Linked DNA regions of Homo sapiens: region 1 is linked to region 2. The links are contacts of gene promoters, found by promoter capture Hi-C in blood cells and fetal thymus (Javierre and others, 2016). All regions are on one chromosome and are shown on one strand. The core of a region is centred on a gene start or on the middle of the fragment in contact, and the rest is flanking DNA. Distances in the headings are between cores, read along the strand shown. Region 1 overlaps RFLNB (refilin B). Region 2 holds the start of VPS53 (VPS53 subunit of GARP complex).

Evidence for each region. Contacts are between HindIII fragments. The CHiCAGO score rates a contact against its expected background, and 5 or more counts as called.
Region 1: a fragment that was not itself captured here is called in contact with the fragment with the promoter of VPS53 in region 2 in 6 of 17 cell types (M0 macrophages, monocytes, endothelial precursors and 3 more); the score reaches 9.8 in M0 macrophages.

What each region holds. Positions count from the first base shown.
Region 1 is chr17:438,141-443,329 of GRCh38, reverse strand. RFLNB (refilin B) reads left to right here. Exons shown (of 2, transcript NM_182705.3): 2 at 1-3,352. The coding sequence ends at 166. Among named protein-coding and RNA genes, the nearest start is that of RFLNB, 5.2 kb to the left of the region's middle. The HindIII fragment of the contact is 3,632 bases long and covers 1-3,088 here.
Region 2 is chr17:711,076-716,088 of GRCh38, reverse strand. VPS53 (VPS53 subunit of GARP complex) reads left to right here and starts at 1,250. Exons shown (of 22, transcript NM_001128159.3): 1 at 1,250-1,466. The coding sequence starts at 1,380. RefSeq lists an enhancer at 709-778. The HindIII fragment of the contact is 2,341 bases long and covers 779-3,119 here.

The DNA.
Region 1 (5,189 bases), core at 23-2,522, 270 kb after region 2:
CACCCGCTTCCTCAGTACCACCATCGTGTACCCCAAGTACCCCAAGGCCGTCTACACCACCACCCTGGATTACAACTGCCGCAAGACGCTGAGGAGGTTTCTGTCCAGCGTGGAGCTCGAAGCCGCGGAGCTCCCGGGCAGCGACGACCTCTCTGATGAATGCTGACCCAGCAGGCTGGGCTGGGGTCGGACCGGCTCTCCCGCTGTCCTGCCCCCGACTGCCCTGGCCAAGCTGGGCGACCTTACCCTTCACGTCATTCCAGCCCCAGAGGAGTCTAACCTAGAGATACCTCCAAGCGCGGCCGGGGGAAGAGAAAAAAAAGAAAAAATCACTGCATCTCATAATTATTGAGATCTTTGTGTTGTAATTTTCAAGCTGTTTTTAGAGGGAATATATGTCCTGGTTTGCTGCTGTGTTGTTTCCCCAAAGTCTCAATCAGATGAGGCAACAAAAAGACCACCAGAATTGCAGGAAAGCAGCAGCAGTCTGGGATAGGGAGGGGGGAGGAGAGCTCTCCCTCCGTGGTCAGTTTGTCAGAAGAAAAGCATGGAAAAAGTGAGATTTAAGAAATCTCAGCCACGGGTGTCTTCACTGCACAAAAGTGGTGCTAATTCAGTAAACAGTGACACCTGTGTGGGTTCAATCTGTGGAGAGTTGAGTTCCATTCCTTTGTTTTTAAATTTCCACCTCCATTTGTGTTTCCTATTAACCTAAACTCTTGTAATTCTCTAAATCTTTTTTCATGATATAAAAAAAAAAGAAAATCCCAAACCACAATTTAAGATGCCTTTTTTTTTTAAAAAAAAAGGTTCTCCGTGTTGCCACCTGCTCCGGGAAGGCCAGGCCGATGGGCGGCCAGGTTTGGGAGCAGCGGCTTCGGCTCCGATTGCTTCCTGACGGTCAGTTCCAAGCACAGGCTCTGAGAAACGCCTCGAACCCTTGGTATCTGGTGACCGTCTCCGCAGGCTTCCGTGAGTCTCCGATAGGTGTTTTGGGCTTTTGGAATACTTTCAGAATACTTTCCCATTTTTTCATAAGGCAAAACGGAGTGGACGGCCTTTTTTTGAGAGAAACAGCATTCTAAGAGTGTGCTTGGAAAACACACTTTTTGGGAGTCCACGTGGGGAGTGGACACTCAGGACAGGAAGCGGTGGCCCTAAGACCTGCGGCCACCCGGAGGAGGCAGACGCAGGCGATGACCTGGTTCATCATGAGAGGAGCTAGAGTTGACTCAGTCTTAGGATCTCGATGGCGTCAGAATTGCAGAGGGTTTCTGCCAGTGCCTTAGGTCTAATTCAGAAAGCAAGGAAGGCTGGGCACGGTGGCTGGCGCCTGTAGTCTCAGCTACTTGGAAACTGAGGCAGGAGGATCTCTTGAGCCCAAGAATTCGAGACCGGTCTGGCAACATAGTGAGCCTCCATCTCTAAAAAAAAGTGGCAAAGCTGAGGAAATCTGTGCCCCCATCCCCCGACACCAGACAAGCTAAGGTGCATTCAGAGTAGGGAACGATGTCAAAACCTGGCCGCCGTGGTGGCGCGCATTCCTCTCACACCACCGTACGGAGGCAGGTGACAGTCAACTGAAATGTCCCCAAGGACCGTGTGAATTCGGCTGGCGTGGCCCAGCAGCGGGGTGGACCAGGGTGCGGTGGCTTCAGACCTGCCTCCCGCCACCCCGTCCTCCCCTAACCCCTTCTTGGGACCTCCTGCCAATCCCTGTGGTGTTTGAGTAAAGAAAGTGGCTGATGGTTTTACTTTTTTCTTCCAATATTGGAAAGAACAAACTAGATATTCCCCTTGAACACATCCAAATTATTTCCAGTGCCTGAGGGTTACCGAGCACTGTAAGCTCAGCTCGGCTGTAGCTCCGGGTTTCTGCCGATGGCCTCCATCTGCGCCGAAAGCTGAACTGAGCCCCGCGGTGCCCCGGAGCCACAGCAGCAGGTGCAGCGACAATCGCCGTCGTGCGCAGTCGCTGGAGTCCTGGAGAGCCACGCTGTCCTCTGCAGACAACAGCATCAGTCCGCTGTGCCCCAATGCATCGACGCCCTGTGGACGGGGCCTGCAGTCCACCCGTGGTCTGAGCTTGCCGGGCTGAAGCTCGGCTGGGACCCAGGGAGGGGCCACCCTGGGACCCACAGTCTCCTCAGTCACGTGCAGAGCAAAAAATGCTTCCTGTGTTTGGAAGAGCAAGTGACGCAGCATTTATTGATAAAAATGGATTTTTCTGTCTGATTTCATGCTGTGGTCGTTTAAGTGGTCAATGTCTTTTTTTTTTTTTTTTTTGACATGGAGTCTCGCTCTGTTGCCCAGGCTGAGTGGAATGGCGCCAACTCAGCTCACTGCAACCTTCACCTCCCAGGCTCAAGCGACTCTCCTGCCTCAGCCTCCTGAGCAGCTGGGATTACAGGTGCCCACCACCACGCCCAGCTAATTTTTGTATTTTTAGTAGAGACGGGGTTTCACCATGTTGGCCAGGCTGGTCTCGAACACCTGACCTTGTGATCCACCCGCCTCGGCCTCCCAATAATTTGTAAGTTATGTTAGCGGGATCCTCAAGGCCTTGCTTTGCCCCGTGGAGACGCTTGCTCGGATGAGCTCAGGAAACAGTACCGGCTGCGTGGCAGGTCTGGGTGTTGTGTGCGAGGACGTGGCCTTTGAACACCGCTGTGTTCTCAGAGGTCCTTAGGAGATATTTTTTTTTGTCTTAGGGGGACTGTGTTAAGTTCAGACAAATCATGCTGGGTGTGTAGAGAGTGTGAAATACGTCAGTGAAGTAAGTAGCAGTGAGCGATTGTGAATGTGTAATGTAAATGGAAAACCGGGTTTTACCGTGTTAAGTTATTCACTAGGGAGCCAGTCGTAGTTCTTTGTAATCCTCTTTCTTCCAAACCTGCTTTGCTGAAAGTTGCAGAAAAGGAAGTGTGTGGAGAGAAACAGAACCCTTCAGGGTGGGTCAGAGGACGCCATCCACAGTGGATTCGTGTTCGTTTGCAGGTGGAAGCAGTGATTTTTAGGACCCACTGATTAAAAACAAACATTCCCAAGTGTCTCTGAGAGATGCTGTTTATTTGTTAATTAAAAAGCTTTTTTCTCTGTCTTTTAAATTATGGCTTTCATGTAATAAGGATATTTTTAGTGAAAAATTGTTTTCCTTTCAAATTACAGACCTTTTAAAAAAACTTAATTTGAGCGAGTACCTTTTCATTTGACACTTTTCCTGTTTCTAACCTTAGGAAACCAGAATAGCGTTTGGCAGACACGACGTTTTCAGTTTACCTTTGACACCTGCCCCACTCCATTTTGCTTTGTGATGTCTTCATTTAACAATAAATTATCTGAAAAAACAAAACTTAGAGAGATGCTTCTGTTTTTAAAGTAGAATTATGTTTGTTTACGCAAAATGAGAAAAACAGCTCCTCATCTTGAGAAATTTTAAGACGTGATTATATTTAACAGTATTAATCTACAAGTACAAGATTTTCCGAGTGTGGCTGGGCATGGTGGCTCACACCTATAATCCCAGCGCTTCACAAGGCCAAGGCTGGAGGATCACTTGAGGCCAGGAGTTCGAGATCAGCCTTGGCAATGCAGTGTGACCCCATCTCTACAAAAATTAAAAATTAAAAAAGAAAGGGGCCAGGCGCCGTAGCTCCCTCCTGTAATCCCAGCACTTTGGGAGGCTGAGGCGGGCGGATCACCTGAGGTCAGGAGTCCGAGACCAACCTGACCAACCTGGTGAAACCCCGTCTCTACTAAAAATACCAAAATTAGCCAGGTATGGTGGGGCACACCTGTAATCCCAGCTACTTGGGAGGTTGAGGCAGGAGAATCACTTGAACCCGGGAGGCGGAGGTTGCAGTGAGCTGAGATCACGCCATTGCACTCCAGCCTGGGTGATGGAGCGAGACTCCATCTCAAAAAATAAATAAATAAAAATAAATAATTTCTGTAGCTTGCTTCAGGGGAGAAAAGGGTGAGGGAAGATCAGAGAGCCCTTCGCTTCTGCCGTTTTCTCAGTTTCCTTGAGCTTAAAATACACAGCAAGCGAAAGTACCGTATTTTGGGGCAGCATTTCCTGCACGCCATCCGTCCCTTTGGGCAAAGCAAAGAGAGAGTCAACAAGAAATATTGAAAATGGATGGAGGCCCTGTATTTCATTCAAGCATCCAATTCACGGCAAGGCTGTGTGTGTATTTGTCTGTCTTTGAGTGATGACTGGGAAGTAATTATGTCCCAGAGATGCAGCTCCCTCTTGGATGCTGATCTCCCCTACTGACTTCGGATTCACCCCAGCTCAGCGAATGCCTCTATTTTATCTATTTTATCTACGGTTTCTTGTATAGGAACGTGTACTCAGCACAAATCCTGCCCTGAGGCAGATTCACATAGCGTTCCTGCCTTTCCCTGCGAGCGTCCCACACAACCCTTCCCTACGGTGGACGAGTCCTGGGTCTAGGGGTAACGGTGCAGGGACCCACCATCTCCCCTAGCTGCTGCCTGGGACCTCATGGCTTCTGCTCATGAGGCTCTATTAGATGTTTCTTTCTGTTTTGCTTTGTTTTATTGAGACAGGATCTCCCTCTTTCTCCCAGGCTGGAGTGGAGTGGCACAATCATAGTTCACTGCTGCCCAAGAACCTCTGGACACAAATTATCTGCCCACCTCAGCCTCCCGAGTAGCTGAGACTACAAGCATGTGCCACCACATCAGGCTAATTTTTAAATTTTTTTTGTAGAGATGAGGTTTCGCCATATTGCCCAGGCTGGTTTCGAACTCCTGGGCTCAAGCAATCTTCCTGTCTTACCGTCCTAAAGTTTTGGGATTACAAGTGTGAGCCACTGTGCCCATCTTAAATGTTTCTTTCTGAGGAACTAAATCTGTCAGCCTCTTTCTTCCAGCTCTCAGCTTCCCTGAACCTTGAGGATAGGTTTCCATAGGTCTGCCCATTGCGAAACAAATGCAGAGTATCGTTTCTGTAATTTTTTTTCCAGTCCCCTTTTAATAGGAATGATGCCTGATTTGGCTGACTGGGATAACAATGAGGGCTAATTTTGCCAATTAGGTTATATGGTGTAAATATTCCATAAAATGAATTGGCTAATCAGCAGTTCCAAGGTTTTGAGGGAAAAATATTTAAAGCACATAAGATTAAGGTACAGGGATGTGTGGGTGTGGGCACGTGCAGA
Region 2 (5,013 bases), core at 1-2,500:
TACTGCTCCTATTTTTTACTTTGAGCAACTCTGATAACAACAACAAAAAAAAGTTCAGTGGGGCCAACGCGTTTCCCTCCTGGAGTTTCCCGGTTCACCTGGTGGAGCGGGTCCTCCTTGGGCTGCAATTCCCTCCTTCTTTTCAGTGTCTGCAGGAAAGGTGGTTTCACAGGGTGATCGGTGATCTGGCTTATTTGTTCCTTTGTGGGGGTAAGGGCTGGGCACCTCACTATTTCCTGTATTACCAGCTTGAATTTACATCGCGCTGTTAATGTTTAATCCTCTCCACATCGACGCGGGGTAGTAATTTGTTCCAAGTCACACAACTTATCAATGGTGGACTATTCAGGACTTAGATCCCGGATATTCAACCTCAGTAAACGTCTCCCCAGCTCCAGGGCGCTGCGTCATCTGGCTTTAAAAAAACGTTTCTGGCCGGGCGCAGTAGCTCACGCCTGTCATCCCAGCACTTTGGGAGGCCGAGGCGGGCGGATCACGAGGTCAAGAGTTCGAGACCAGCCTGGCCAACATGGTGAAACCTCGTCTCCACTAAAAATACAAAAATTAGCTGGGCGTGGTGGCGGGCGCCTGTAATCCCAGCTACTCGGGAGGCTGAGACAGGAGAATCGCTTGAACCCAGCAGGCGGGGTTGCAGTGAGCCGAGATCGCGCCGTTGCACTCCAGCCTGGGCAACAAGTAAGACTCCGTCTCAAAAAAAAAAAAAAAAAAAAAAAAGACGTTTCTCCCCATAAGGAGGCTGCAGTCACCTCGAAAAGCTTCTGCGCAGAGCCCGGCGCACGGGGAATTTCTATCGAGTGGGCACTGTCCCGTCCTACGAATGTCCTTGGCGACATCGCCACTCGCCAGCTGGGATCACGTCGCCCCCGTGGCCGGGGACACCCGCTGCCACTGACCGAGGGGGCCCCGGGAGCTGAGAGGTCGCCGCTGCGCTGCCCGCGGAGGCTGTGGGCTGCGGTTGGCGACGCCGCAGGGCTGACTTTCATCCGGGCGTCCTGCTGGAGGCCAGACCCTACCCCAACCTCGGGGTCCTCAGTGCGGGGCGCGCCTTGGGGAGGGAAGAGGCCCCGCCCATCCTAAGGACGCGCTGAGGCCACGCGGGGCCGCCGGGATACTGCGTTGCCCGGGAGACACCTGACGTGACAGGAACGCCGCCAGTCTCAGTCCGCCGTGATCCCACAGTTCCCCGGTCCCGGAAGTGCCCTGGCCTGCCGGAAGTGCCGGAGCGGCTGACAGAGCGGCTGACGGAGCCGGGCTCACCAGGTCGCTGCCGCGAGGGAGTTGCTGTGCTGGGGCCTGGGTGGCGGCTGGAGGCCTGAGTTGGGCTCGCGGCGGGGGTCGGCAGGGGGCCGGGTGGCGGAATGATGGAGGAGGAGGAACTGGAGTTCGTGGAGGAGCTGGAAGCCGTGCTGCAGCTCACGCCCGAGGTGCAGCTGGCCATCGAGCAGGTAAGCGTTCCGCCCCTCAGGAGGGGAAACGGGAGTGCGGGAGGGGAGACGGCAGCTCCGGGCGCTGGGGAGGCCGCGGCGGGTGGACGGAGGGCCGGGGGCTCGCGGCAGAAGGGAAAGTGGAGGTGGGGAGGTGGTGCGGGTGAGAAGCGGTTTCTGAATCAGAAGGAAAGGAAAGAGAACCCTTTCTAGGCTTTGATTGTCTTTGGCGAGGGCTGGGGGTTCTGGTGGTTTTGGGGAAAGGAATTGTGCGCTTAGAGAGGACGACGCTAGGAGAATGCAGGCCTTGGGTGCCATCCTCAGATTCTGGGGACTGTGGGGGCTTCATGCATTTACCAGACTCGTGCCAACGCCCCGGTTTTGCAAGCTGGCACCTCGTGAGTGGCTTGGAACTGGGGGAAGGGAATGACTTTAATTTCTGAAGCGGACGGCAGAGAAGAGAGAAAGTGTTGAAAAATGACATCGTTACCATTCTTAAAAGGTTGAGAATTCCTACCGTTGAATAGTTTGGGTGAGGTTGGAGAATACTCCCAAGGGGCCTCTTTTCCCTTCAGGAACTTTTTTTTTTTTTTTTTTTTGAGACGGATTCTCGCTCTGTCGCCCGGGCTGGAGTGCAACGGCACGATCTCGGCTCACTGCGACCTCCGCCTCCCGAGTTCAAGCGATTCTCCTGTCTCAGCCTCCTGAGTAGCTGTGATTACAGGCGCACGCCACCACACCCGGCTAATTTTTTTTTTTTTTTGGGGTAAAGACGGGGGTTTCACCGTTTTGGCCAGGATGGTCTCGAACTCCTGAGCTCAAGTAACCCGCCCGCCTTGGCCTCCCAAAGTGCTGGGATTACAGGCGTGAGCCACCACGCGCGGCCCTGCCTGCAGGAACTCTTGCCTTTGCAAGTTTATTGAGTTTTTAAGGCTAATGATATTAGAAATAGTGATTTTTTTCTTTTCTTTTTTTCTTTTTTTTTGTTTTCTGAGACGGAGTCTCGCTCTTTCGCCCAGGTTGGAGTGTAGGGGTGCCATCTCGGCTCACTGCAACCTCCGCTTCCAGGTTCAAGTGATTCTCCTGCCTCAGCCTCCTGAGTAGCTGGGACTACAGGCAACCGCTACCATGCCTAGCTAATTTTTGTATTTTTAGTAGAGACCGGGTTTCACCATGTTGGCCAGGCTGGTCTTGAACTCCTGACCTCAGGCTATCCGCCCGCCTCGGCCTCCCAAAGTGCTGGGATTACAGGTGTGAGCCACTGCACCCGGTCAGAAATAGTGATTTCTAATACTGCAGGGTATTGCTCCTGATAAACGGAGAAAATCTCCCTTAAAGGAATTGTCATGAAGTTATATGATTTAAGAAAGGGATTTATGATTGAGGAAATGGACAATTCCATTATGCCTTATTTAATGACCCCTGGGAAACTTTTTTTTTTTGAGATAGGGTCTTGCTCTGTTGTCCAGGCTGGAGTACAGTGGCATAATCGTAGCTCACTGCAGCCTCGAACTCCTGGGGCTCAAGTGATAACCCTGCCTCAGCCTCCCGAGTAGCTGGGACTACAGGTGCATTCATTGACGCTTCGATGTGTGTTTTTCCAGTAGTGGTTGGATTACTTATACAACCAACTTTGTCCTAGCCTGAGAACGCCAAACCATTGGGCAGGAAGCTTTTAGTGTTCCGGCCACACGGCTCCACCACTTACCTCCTTTTGCCAGAAAAAGACATAACATTTCTGTTGCTCTTTGGACTAGTGGGCTCTCATGGAAGAAAAGAATAATGCAGTCAGTTACTGTTTGGTTGACAGGTATCAGAAAAGCACATTTTTGCTATTTCTTTTGTTTGTTTCAACAGCTTTTGGGGTACAGGTGGTTTTTGATTACATGGATGAATTACATAGCGGTGAATTCTGACATTTTTCCTATTTTGTAAGAATAAGTTTGAGTGATAGTATAGCAGACATCTTTATGTCAAGCAGAATTCAGACATCATTATGTCAAGATGAATTCAGAATTTTTTCTTACTTTAGCACTCTGAATGAAATTCTGTAGTAGCATACTTGTAAAGAGTAGTGATGTGTGAGGAGTCAGGAAGGGTTGATAAAATGGAATCACATTTTACTCCAAGATGAAGTCCCAGAGTCATTGCATAAGGTGAAAATTGGCTGGGCTCGGTGGCTCACACCTGTAATCCCAGCACTTTGGGAGGCCAGGGCGGGTGGATCACGATGTCAGGAGTTCAAGACCAGCCTGGCCAACATGGTGAAACCCCGTCTCTCCTAAAAATACAAAAATTTAGCTGGGCATGGTGGCAGGTGCCCGTAATCTCAGCTACTCGGGAGGTTGAGGCAAAGAACTGCTTGAACCCGGGAGGCAGAGGTTGCAGTGAGCTGAGATGGTGCCACTGCCTTCCAGCCTGAGCGACAGAGTGAGACTCCATCTCGAAAAAAAAAAAAAAAAAAAAGGCGAAAGTCACTCTAGACATGAAAATCACTCTGCCCTGAAGTTCTTTAAATTGCCCATGAAGGCCGGGTGTGGAGGCTCACGCCTGTAATCCCAGCACTTTGGGAGGCCGAGGCGGGTGGATCACAAGTTCAGGAGATTGAGACCATCCTGGCCAACACGGTGAAACCCCTTCTCTACTAAAAACACAAAAAATAAGCCGGGTATGGTGGCGAGCGCCTGTAGTCCCACCTTCTCAAGAGGCTGAGACAGGAGAATGGCATGAACCTGGGAGGTGGAGCTTGTAGTGAACCAAGATCGCGCTACTGCACTCCAGCCTGGGTGACAGCGCGAGACTCCGTGTCAAAAAAAAAAAAAAAAATTGCCCATGAAGTACCACGTATGCATCTCTGATAAGTCTAGGGCTGTTAGTTTTTTTCCTCCATCATTGGAACCAGTCATTCTTTTTTCAGCTGGCTTTTGTTAGGAGCCTTGTTACATGAAAACAATTTAAAACCTAGGACAGCACTAAAACCTAGGAGTCGTGAGAGGAATACAGAAACTGAGAGCAACTTGAGGAAATAGTTTGTATCTCTTGTATCCTGCTCTCTGTGGGTTATACTTTCCCTCTGGTGAGCACGTATCATTGAGACTGTGTAAATAACCTGTGTATATGTGCATTATGGAAACAGCAATGCTGAACATTTTAAAAAGAAAACATCTTCACTTTCTTCTCATCCACCTCCTCTTGATGTGGTAGAAGGCTTCAGCTTTTCTAACAGTTGTCTTGAAGATATTTTGATTTTTTGACTCTATATTTCTTTGGAAGGCTTCTTCAGAGATGAAGTTGCTTCCCACAGTTGTAACTCTATCAAGCTGGGTGAGACCCAGTGTCCAGTGGATAATTTGGCTGCTTGTATCATCCACCTTGTTGCGTGTTCTTCAGGTTGTTAGGGAGTTAGCTGTATGTCTTAGAGGTGGACTGTTTTTGAGAGAGGATCTCACTCTGTCGCCCAGGCTGGAGTTCAGTGATAGAATCTCGGCTCACTGCAACCTCAACCTCCTGGGCTCTGGTGATCCTCCCATCTCAGCCTCCCACGTAGCTGGGACTATGACAGGCATGT